3 separate regions of the Homo sapiens genome follow, and all the other regions are linked to region 2. The links are contacts of gene promoters, found by promoter capture Hi-C in blood cells and fetal thymus (Javierre and others, 2016). All regions are on one chromosome and are shown on one strand. The core of a region is centred on a gene start or on the middle of the fragment in contact, and the rest is flanking DNA. Distances in the headings are between cores, read along the strand shown. Region 1 holds the start of TPPP2 (tubulin polymerization promoting protein family member 2). Region 2 holds the start of TRY-GTA5-4 (tRNA-Tyr (anticodon GTA) 5-4). Region 3 holds the start of TTC5 (tetratricopeptide repeat domain 5).

Evidence for each region. The method cuts DNA at HindIII sites, captures the fragments that hold promoters and counts their contacts. A CHiCAGO score of 5 or more calls a contact.
Region 1: the fragment with the promoter of TPPP2 here is called in contact with a fragment that was not itself captured in region 2 in 2 of 17 cell types (monocytes and M1 macrophages); the score reaches 5.3 in monocytes.
Region 3: a contact is called between the fragment with the promoter of TTC5 here and a fragment that was not itself captured in region 2, in 8 of 17 cell types (total CD8 T cells, activated CD4 T cells, non-activated CD4 T cells and 5 more). The highest score is 7.6, in total CD8 T cells.

Annotation. Positions count from the first base shown.
Region 1 is chr14:21,028,920-21,032,174 of GRCh38, reverse strand. It overlaps TPPP2 (tubulin polymerization promoting protein family member 2), which reads right to left and starts at 1,958. Exons shown (of 4, transcript NM_173846.5): 1 at 1,871-1,958; 2 at 1,421-1,662; 3 at 1,010-1,163; 4 at 1-283. The coding sequence starts at 1,593. The coding sequence ends at 98. It also overlaps a transcript of NDRG2 not described here. The HindIII fragment of the contact is 5,962 bases long and covers 1-2,152 here.
Region 2 is chr14:20,661,559-20,664,439 of GRCh38, reverse strand. TRY-GTA5-4 (tRNA-Tyr (anticodon GTA) 5-4) reads left to right here and starts at 1,155; the gene lies at 1,155-1,248. It overlaps LOC124903281 (a long non-coding RNA gene), which reads right to left. Exons shown (of 2, transcript XR_007064059.1): 2 at 2,027-2,881. RefSeq lists silencers at 781-850, 2,799-2,881 and an enhancer at 961-1,240. The HindIII fragment of the contact is 1,499 bases long and covers 766-2,264 here.
Region 3 is chr14:20,304,575-20,307,532 of GRCh38, reverse strand. TTC5 (tetratricopeptide repeat domain 5) reads left to right here and starts at 1,582. Exons shown (of 10, transcript NM_138376.3): 1 at 1,582-1,646. The coding sequence starts at 1,596. RefSeq lists an enhancer at 1,437-1,676. The HindIII fragment of the contact is 10,592 bases long and covers 1-2,958 here.

The sequences.
Region 1 (3,255 bases), core at 709-3,208, 370 kb before region 2:
TTTGGCTGCTGCACACACAGATGTTTATTGTTTTCCAAGCTCCCTGGTGTTAAACATGCAGGGTCAGGGGGCTAGCAGGCTGAGATGAAGCTCCTCTCTACTTGGTCTTCTTATCGTAGGTGCCAGAACCCTTGTAACCACTCACATAGCCTGTGTTGTCAGTCATCTCTTCCCGTCCCGCAATGCCCTTGCCCTTGCCACTCTCATCAAAGCGCTCCTTGTGGGTGCCGGTGTACTTGCTGGTGTCTGTCAAACGGTCCACTGCACCCACTGTTGTTGCTTTCTGCAAGCCAGGGATGGATTTGAGCTCTCTTCCTTTCCTTACGCTGTCATATCCCTTCCCCAAAGATGGCCCGAGATACTTAGAACAAGTGCTTGGAGCTCTTGCTCTGCCACTGGCATGGGGTGCTGCTTTCTTAGGGCCCAGATACAGCTGTGGGCAGGTACTCTGGTAAGAGCCGTTCACTCATGGGGGAGGAGGAGTGTGGTGTGGGAATGAGTGTGGCGTGTGCAGAGGGAGGGTAGGTTTTTTGTTTCCAGAGGAGTTATTCTGACTAGGCTGCTGCCTGAGGACTTCACTCCCACTCCCCGACTCAATATCCACTGTAGAAAGAGCTTTTAGTTCAGACAGGACAATTAAAAAAGGGAGTAGGTGAGAGGCAGGAGGCCTGAGATTAAACCCTAAATAAGAATTGGAAGAGGAGTGGGCATCAGGTACCAAATTCTCTACACTAATGTCCTCCAAAAGCTACCAAGCCCTAATTGCCTGGCTCAGATACTAGACACTTGGAAATTAGTCTAAATCTACTATTAAAATAGCCATGGACCTTGGGCAAGTCACTTCCCTTCTCTGGGCCACATTTTCCTGACTTCTGGAATGTCTAGATGATCTCTAAAGTCTGTTTCGGCCCTGTCTCTACAGTCACACAGTTGGCAGGGTTAGGGAGGGTAGACTGGAACAATGGGGATTTAGGGAAGTAGGGTCAAGGGGATGAAGGCTGTCACTCACAGTAGCGCCAGTGGTGGCTGGGTCTTTGCCCTCCATGAGTCCATAAATGTTCTCCAGGACTTCATCTGGACTCTTCCCTTTGAAGCGCTTCTGGCCCAGTTCCTTCACTGCCTCTTTGAACTGTTGAAACGTGATGGTTCGGGCGTTCTTGGCCCTGGTCAGTTAGACAGAAATCCAGAAACTTTGGAGCATGAATGCATTACCTTCCAAGGTCCAACTCTTGCCTCACTCAGATTTGGCCTCTTTTGTCCTATCAATCAGTGAGTGTCTCGAAGACAAAGGATAGCACAGCGCCAGGTACCCTGTGGTGCTTGGTAGGCCCACTGCAAATGTTCCACCACGTGAACCCTTCCGTGGCCAACTACCTCGCAGGTTCTTCTCACCCCCACCTCCATATTTTTGGCTCCTCACTTGACTTTGCTGAACACGATGTCCACGTCCGTGGAGGTGACTGTCTTGCCATCCATGATGCCACAGTCTTTGCACAGCTTGGAGAAGTTCTTGTTGTTCATTTCAGTGCCACTGCTTGATGATTCTCCAAACGCAGCAAACCGATGGAATGTTTTTTCTGCCTCTGATGCCATGGTCAGCTAGAGGTCGGGGAGGGCAGTCGTGGGAGACACTTGGGGGTGAAGGAGAAGGGGGAGGGAGGACTGTGGAGTAATGAGGATGAGTGTTATGGTAAAATCAGTCAGCAACAGGAACAGCTCCCCTCTTCCCTGTTGCTCTCTCCTTTCTCCCTCCCAGCTCCCATTGCACCTACGCAACTACAGCATGAGTCTCCCATTCCCAGCATTGGAGATACCAGTGTGGATCCTACCTACTGAATGATCCTCTCTTTCCCCTACCTCTTTTATGTACCTTAGAGTACCCGGATGGTGGTCTGACCCTTCCCGGCCTTTGTATTTAAGTGTGTGCAGATATGTGGGAGCCGGTTGGCTGTGGCAATGAGGAGACAGAGGGAGGAGAGGGAAGATTCTATGACCTCAGCAGTGGTTATGTGACATCACTTCTGGCCCCAGCTACAGCCATTGCCTTCAAAGGAGGGGGCTTTTGGTCTCCCTACCTTGCATGCCGAATTGAGCAAACTGCCAACTTTCTGACCTTTTCAGATGATCACATTTCCATCATTTCAGCCAAGCTTACCCATCCTCTGGGTCCTAGTCAAATTGCCTTATGCTCTGCCCCACAACAGAAGCTGAGGCGAGCCCAGGGAAGGTGTTGTAGTCTGTTTGGGCTGCTAGAACAAAATATCAAACTGGGTGGCTTATAAACAACAGACATTTATTTCTCAGAGCTCTGAAGGCTGAGAAGTCTAAGATCAAGGTGCTGGCAGATTCAGTGTTTGGTGAGGGCTGCTTTCCGGTCCATAGATGGCACCTTCTTGCTGTGTCCTCACATGGTAGAAGGGGTGAATGAGTTCCCTTGGGCCTATTTATAAGGGTATGAATCCCATTCAGAAAGGCTCTGCCCTCATAAAACTTAATCACCCCCCAAAATGCCCCATCTCCTAATACCATGACTTTGGGAGTTAGGATTTTATTTTATTTATTTGCGTATTTATTTTGAGATGGAGTCTCGCTGTCTGTTGCCCAGGCTGAAATGCAGTGGCATGATCCTGGGGCACTGCAACCTCCAGTCCCAGGATTCAAGCGACTCTCATGCCTCAGCCTCCCCAGTAGCTGGGATTAGCCCAGCCACTATGCCTGGCTAATTTTTGCATTTTTAGTAGAGACGGGGTTTTGCCATGTTGGCCAGGCTGGTTTCGAACTCCTGACCTCAAGTGATCCACCTGCCTCAGCCTCCCAAAGTGCTGGGATTACAGGTGTGACCCACTGCGTCCAGCCGGGAGTTAGGATTTTAATATATGAATCTGTGGACAACATAAACATTCAGACCACAGCAGTTAATGAAAACGGATTAATGAAAACAGGCTGTCATGTTTTCTAGTCTCCAGGCTCAAGTGTAGCATGGAGAATCCCACTGGCTTTAAAAGGCCAGTCGCAATAGAAACATTAAATAGCTTCCAGTGTTGGGCCCAGCAAGCCTTGGAGTATAACAGATGTGGACAGGTCAGGATAAAACTGGGATAGACTGAGGGTGAGGCTCAGATTCTGAAAATCTTCAGATAAGTTTCTATGCAGGTCAAAGATGTTCCTCAGGGTTTTCTCTCTTCGGCCTTTTCTCTGGCCAGAAGCACTACAGATAGATGAACCTCACGGATCCTAAAACAGAGCAACGAGACT
Region 2 (2,881 bases), core at 266-2,765:
GTCGGGAGTTCAAGACCAGCCTGGCCAACATGGAGAAACCCCAAGTCTTTACTAAAAATGCAAAATTAGCCGGGCGTGGCGGCGCATACCTGTAATCCCAGCTACTCCGGAGGCTGAGGCGGCAGAATCGCTTGAACCTGGGAGGCGGAGGTGGCGGTGAGCTGAGATCGCGCCATTTCACTCCAGCCTGGGCAACGAGAGTGAAACTCCATCTCAAAAAAAAAAAAAAAAAAAGAAGAAGAAGAAGAAGAAGAAGAAGAAGTGCCTTTCACCTCCAGCCATGATTCTGAGGCCCCCTAGGCATGTGGAACTGTGAGTCCAATTAAACCTCTTTTTCATCCCAGTCTCGGGTATGTCTTTATCCGCAGCATGAAAACGGACTAATATACTTGCCCTACTTCAGAAAGAGGAAGCCTCTGGGGGAGAAAAAAAAAAGAGTTCTTGGTCAGTTTGCAGAGGAGGGAAGCCAAGCCCCAGTTGGGCGCTGGGGAGGAAGGAGGGTATCACAGTGCATCTGCAAGCCCTGGGCGAGTTCTTCTCACCTAGTCCCATTTGTTCTCTCTCTCACTTCTAGCACACTTGAATGCGCCAAAAAGCAAGCATAGGACACTGTAGGGAAAAGGGCGGAGGCACATCGGGAGAAGGGGCATGTGTGTGTTGGCCGGGAAGGGAGTAGGAAGGCCAGAGTTTTAGGAAAGGGCTGCTTAAGGACTTTCAGCAGACCCTGCAGCTGGTCTGCGGATAGCGGCCGCCCACCCAGAAGCTTTCCGAGTTCTTCTTTCCTCCTCCTGCAACCCCTGTCCCACAGGATCCACCCATCCACCTAGCCCATCCCTCTGACCGAGCCCTCTCACCCTCTTGTTTTCTTTCGCTGAGGGCTGTCATCCTCACTTGTAAAAACAGAGATGCACAGGTGGAGGAAGGCCACAGGCGAGAGCCTCCCGTCCTGGATTGTGGCTATCAGCGCTCTGGGACGCGAGGAAACCACACTCGGAGGATTTGCTCCACCCTGAGAGGTGCGCGGTGGCAACCAGCGCAAGGTTCTCTTCTAAGGCGGGTTCCAATCAACTCTAAGTGTGTTGACTCCAGCGTTCCAAGGACTTGGCTTCCTCCATTTGCGGAAAGTCCAGTGATCCAGCTCTTGCAGCGTGCACCCTTCGATAGCTCAGCTGGTAGAGCGGAGGACTGTAGATTGTACAGACATTTGCGGACATCCTTAGGTCGCTGGTTCGATTCCGGCTCGAAGGAAGTGCCCGATGCTTTTGCATGCAATGCCACCTGGTGCCTGGTCAAACGCCCTGCAGCCTCCAACTAGTATCCACCCACACCCTCCCAGTCAAAACCCAGAGAAACCTTTCCTGATCACCTGGTTTCCACACCTGTGCTGTGGCCAGGAAACACGCCCGTAAGCCCACTCATTCTTCCCACAGTCCAGGGACAGGTACTCTTCAACGCAAAGGGCCCCTTGCTTCTGCTTTGTGACCCAGTCAGCCCCTCTCCCCAACCCCCTTCGCACCCCCACCATCCAGAGCTCTTTCACTTTTATCCACAGACTGCTCTGGGTGCTGAGGGCCATGGACTCTAGCAACATTGTGTGCTCACCATTGATAGATCTCTCGATCTATTAAACCAGTGGGCCCACCATCAACTCCTAGAAGATCAAGCCTGCTGGAAGAGAAAAGGGTCAGAGACAACTGTGACATCCTCAGGAAAAAAAAAAAATGCTCTCTATGCTGTCTCTCTCTCATCTCCTTCTCCAGGTCTCTAGCAAATGCTTTTCTATCTGAGCATTCTCTCTCTCTCTCTCTGTTTTTCTCTGACTCTAGTTCTCTCATTATCTTTTGCTTGTAATGTATAGATGTATACAGACAGAAAATGTTCATTTCTGTTTTGTTTTGTCTATTTGTGGGAGAGAGTTGCCGCCCTGAGATTTTCTTAATAAATAGGGCTTCCACTGGCTCCATAATATTTTCCTTCAGGTTGAGAACAAAAATGTGCCCCCTTCCCACATACACCAAGCCTCACATTTCCCGAGCCTTCGCACCTTTTAATGTTGCTACAGTAAACTTTGGGCTCCTGCTGGAAGAAGAAAGATACCTTCCACTCAGTTCAAAGTCTGCAAAAACACCTATACCAAGTGTCTTACTGGTTGTGAAGGTGTGAGAGAGGGAAAGAGAGTATAAAAGGGCAGACTTGGAAAGAACTTCAGTGACCCGGGAGGGTTGGGGGCTGTTGGGTCCCTGGCAGGGAGCAGAATTGAAGCTTGGGTGGCAGCTGCCACCTTGCAGAGGTACACAAGTTCACCTCCTTAGGCCACTGGCTTGTTGCATCTGAGCAGCATGCTCACTTTTATGTGGGGGCTCTGCAGGCACAGCTGGAAGGTTGCGCCTTCTACAAGAGGAAGATGGCTGGCACAATCTGAGAGCATGAAGCAGGAAATGGGCTTGGCTTTCACCAACTGGGCTTCACCTCTGGGAAGATGAAGTGGGTTCATCAAAGTATGAGCCAGAGAGGAACCACAATGAGTGTCCCCTGGTCCCATCCTATGCTCTGGGGAAAAAAAAAAAAATCTTCAGACGCTTGATATACAGATGAAAATTATCACAGAGAGCACTGCAAGCAAAACAGTGATGGAAATTTGGTTCTCAGAGGCCTTCTGGGAACCCGGTGACCACTCTCCCCTACCCGATGGGCATAACTGCTTTTTCACTCTGCGTCTCAAACTAGAGAGTACACATGTCTTCCCCTCCTAGAAAGCAGATCCTGTTCTCCCCCTACGGCCTATTCCCTACCTCTTCTCTGTTGTATCAGCCTTTCCTGCTTCCCACTGCTGATGGAAAGGGGCAGAGCTGTGGACTCACCAGTGCCCCAGCAACATTCT
Region 3 (2,958 bases), core at 333-2,832, 360 kb after region 2:
ACAGGTGCATGCCACCACACCTGGCTAATTTTTGTATCTTTAGTAGAGATGGGGTTTTACCACATTGGCCAGGCTTGTCTTGAACTGACCTCAAGTGATCTGCCCGCCTTGGCCTCCCAAAGTGCTGGGATTACAGGTGTGAGCCACCGTGCCCAGCCTCGTGTGCACCAAAGTTAAAATGTCTGAGAAAGAGGATGAAAAATTTTAAAGTTTTAGGGCCGGGTGTGGTGGCTCACGCCTGTAATCCTAGCACTTTGGGAAGCTGAGGCGGGTGAATCATGAGGTCAGGAGATCGAGACCATCCTGGCTAACACGGTGAAATCCCGTCTCTACTAAAAATACAAAAAATTAGCCGGGCGTGGTGGTATGCACCTGTAGCCCCAGCTACTCGGGAGGCTGAGGCGGGAGAATCGCTTGAACCTGGGAGGCCGAGGTTGCAGTGAGCCGAGATGGCGCCATTGCACTCCAGCCTGGGCTACACAGTGAGACTCCATCTCAAAAAAAAATTTTTAAAACATCCCTCCCTATTTTACAGCTAACGACATAGATTTTATAGGTTACAATACAAACTATTTCCTTTATGTTGGAAAATGATTTGAGGAAATGATTTTATGTATATTCATGATTTCTGCCTTGAACGTTTTACTTCTTTGTTAGTTTCACAGAATCAGCTTGAAGCTGTAATTAAAACTAAAAAAGTAAAGCAAAACTGCCAGGAATATTACATGACACTTTAAAAGATTTATTCAGAAGTTTAATATATTCACAAGGTACAAACTTTAAAGTTACAAAAAAGGCATAGAGTGAAAAGTCTACCCCAGTTCCCTGGTCACTCATTTTTGCTCCAGCCACTCACTTCTGCTCTTTGTAAGCGATAGTCTTGCCAGTGTCTTGTGTCTCTTTCCAGAGACTATGTAGAAGCAAATAATTTTTTATTTAAAAATGTTTATATTTGAATAGGTGATACATATAGATGGCAAGAAAATTCAAAAGGGCAGGCAGTGAAAATTTTCTTCGCTCACCCACAGTTCCCCAGTTTCTGTGTTTCCCTCTGCAGAGACAGTCATCCTTTCTTATATATCCTTCTGGATGTTGTCTATAAATATGGAGGCATTGTTAGTGTAGAGCATGGTGGTTTTTATGAGCCATCCCAAGTGTAGTATTTATTAAGATAGTGCATTAAAATGATAAAATTAATCATACATAGAAAATTACTGCAAAGTTTGGAAAAGATTGAGTAAAGTAGCTATTGTACTACATGGCTTTCGAAATTTCAAACAACACAGGTGTGCACTTCTTAAACTCTCTTCTTTATGGAGTATTATAATCTTAGTATAAATAAGTAGGAAGACATGAAACAAGAATATAGAAATTAAGCTGAGGACATTTTGTTTCCAGGATCTGGGAAAGAAAGAAGTTTATGAACTCACAAGTGATTGTAGAGCATCTCTGTGGAAATAAATGGTTAAGTCGGTTTGAAGCAAAGCCCTTCTGGGGCAGAAAAGCCTCCAGAACGCCAGATGTCGCTGTGGTTCCGCGGTGAGAGAGGGCGTGCGTCTCTGTGGTTATAAAGTTGGGGGTGGAGTGGCCGGGAGATGATGGCTGATGAAGAGGAAGAAGTCAAGCCGATCTTGCAGAAATTGCAGGTGGGGCCGTAGATTAAATTCTGTATGTGTTTTTGTTACTCCGAATGAAGCAGGGAGTCCAGTTTATGTACTGCCCGTGAATTCCTCGGCACACACGCGAAGCTGCGTGCGTCTGTGTGGTTACTATAACAACCCTCGAGGGTGCAGCCGCAGCCAGCCAGGGAGCCTCGTTGGAACCTCCTGCTGCCGACCTGACTGCGGTTAATTTCAGTCCTGTATGGAAGAAGATTTGTTGCTCCTAACTGTTCATGTACATTTTTAGAGAGGACGTTGTTTTCTCGATTCATCCATAGCGAATAGCATATACATGTGTGTGGCAGATCTGCATGAACTACTGTCACATGTTGTTTTGATCCCTACAAAAGCCATTTAACACCTTTCTGCTTTGAATTTGGCAACAATCACGCTAATGACCTGCACTGCAAGTGTCCTGGTTACTCCCCTTAGGATTTCAGTTTTGATTTCTTTCAACCTGTGTAATTCCACTTTGGGGTCTGATGCAGAGGGGTCCAGACTCCACATAGTCCACAGGTAAGACTAGTCTTTTGGACTTGGTAGGGAGGCGTTAACTAGTTGCTTGGCTCTTTGCCTTTAAGAACCCATGATTTTCCTTACACCTCAGGAACTCAGTTCTTCGTTCTAAGGCAGCCTGTAACTTAAATATTAGAACTATGACAGGCTTGTAACTTGCCTAAAGGTGTTTAACGCACAAATTTAAATACTGGTGAAATTTCTTTGTTCTTGGGTACATTAAAATAGTAACACTTTTTAGAGTGTTCCAGCTGATTTGGATTAACTTCATTTTATTCCCTAACTGTGACTGGCTGAAATCAGAGATTCTCAATTCTGGTTCTATATTAGAAACATTATTTGTGTATATATGTTTGTATATGCACAGAAAAAAATCTGAAAAGGTATACAAATCAGTGGTTATCACTGAGGTTCTTTGGGGTAATTTTGTACTTTCTTTTTTTTACATGTATCTATTTGAATTTTAACAACTTACATGTATTGATTTTGCCATGAAAAAATAAGTTTCTAAAAACATTCAGTCCAGAGGAAAACAAAACCAAACAATAAAACCAAACAACTTCTTGAATGTTTGGTTTAACAACTAAAACCAATCAATAAGCCCTTCTCTAAAACTCTTAATTTGCAGCCATGTTGATTGCAGGACAAAAGGAAATTGGTTGTAATTTTTTATGAGAATTGTCTTTTCCTAGGTTCATTTGTGGTAAATGTCCTAAGCAGCTTGGGAGAGGATACTTCCGTTATCTTGGGGTGGGGTCGGTGCAGGAATGGAATAAAGGAG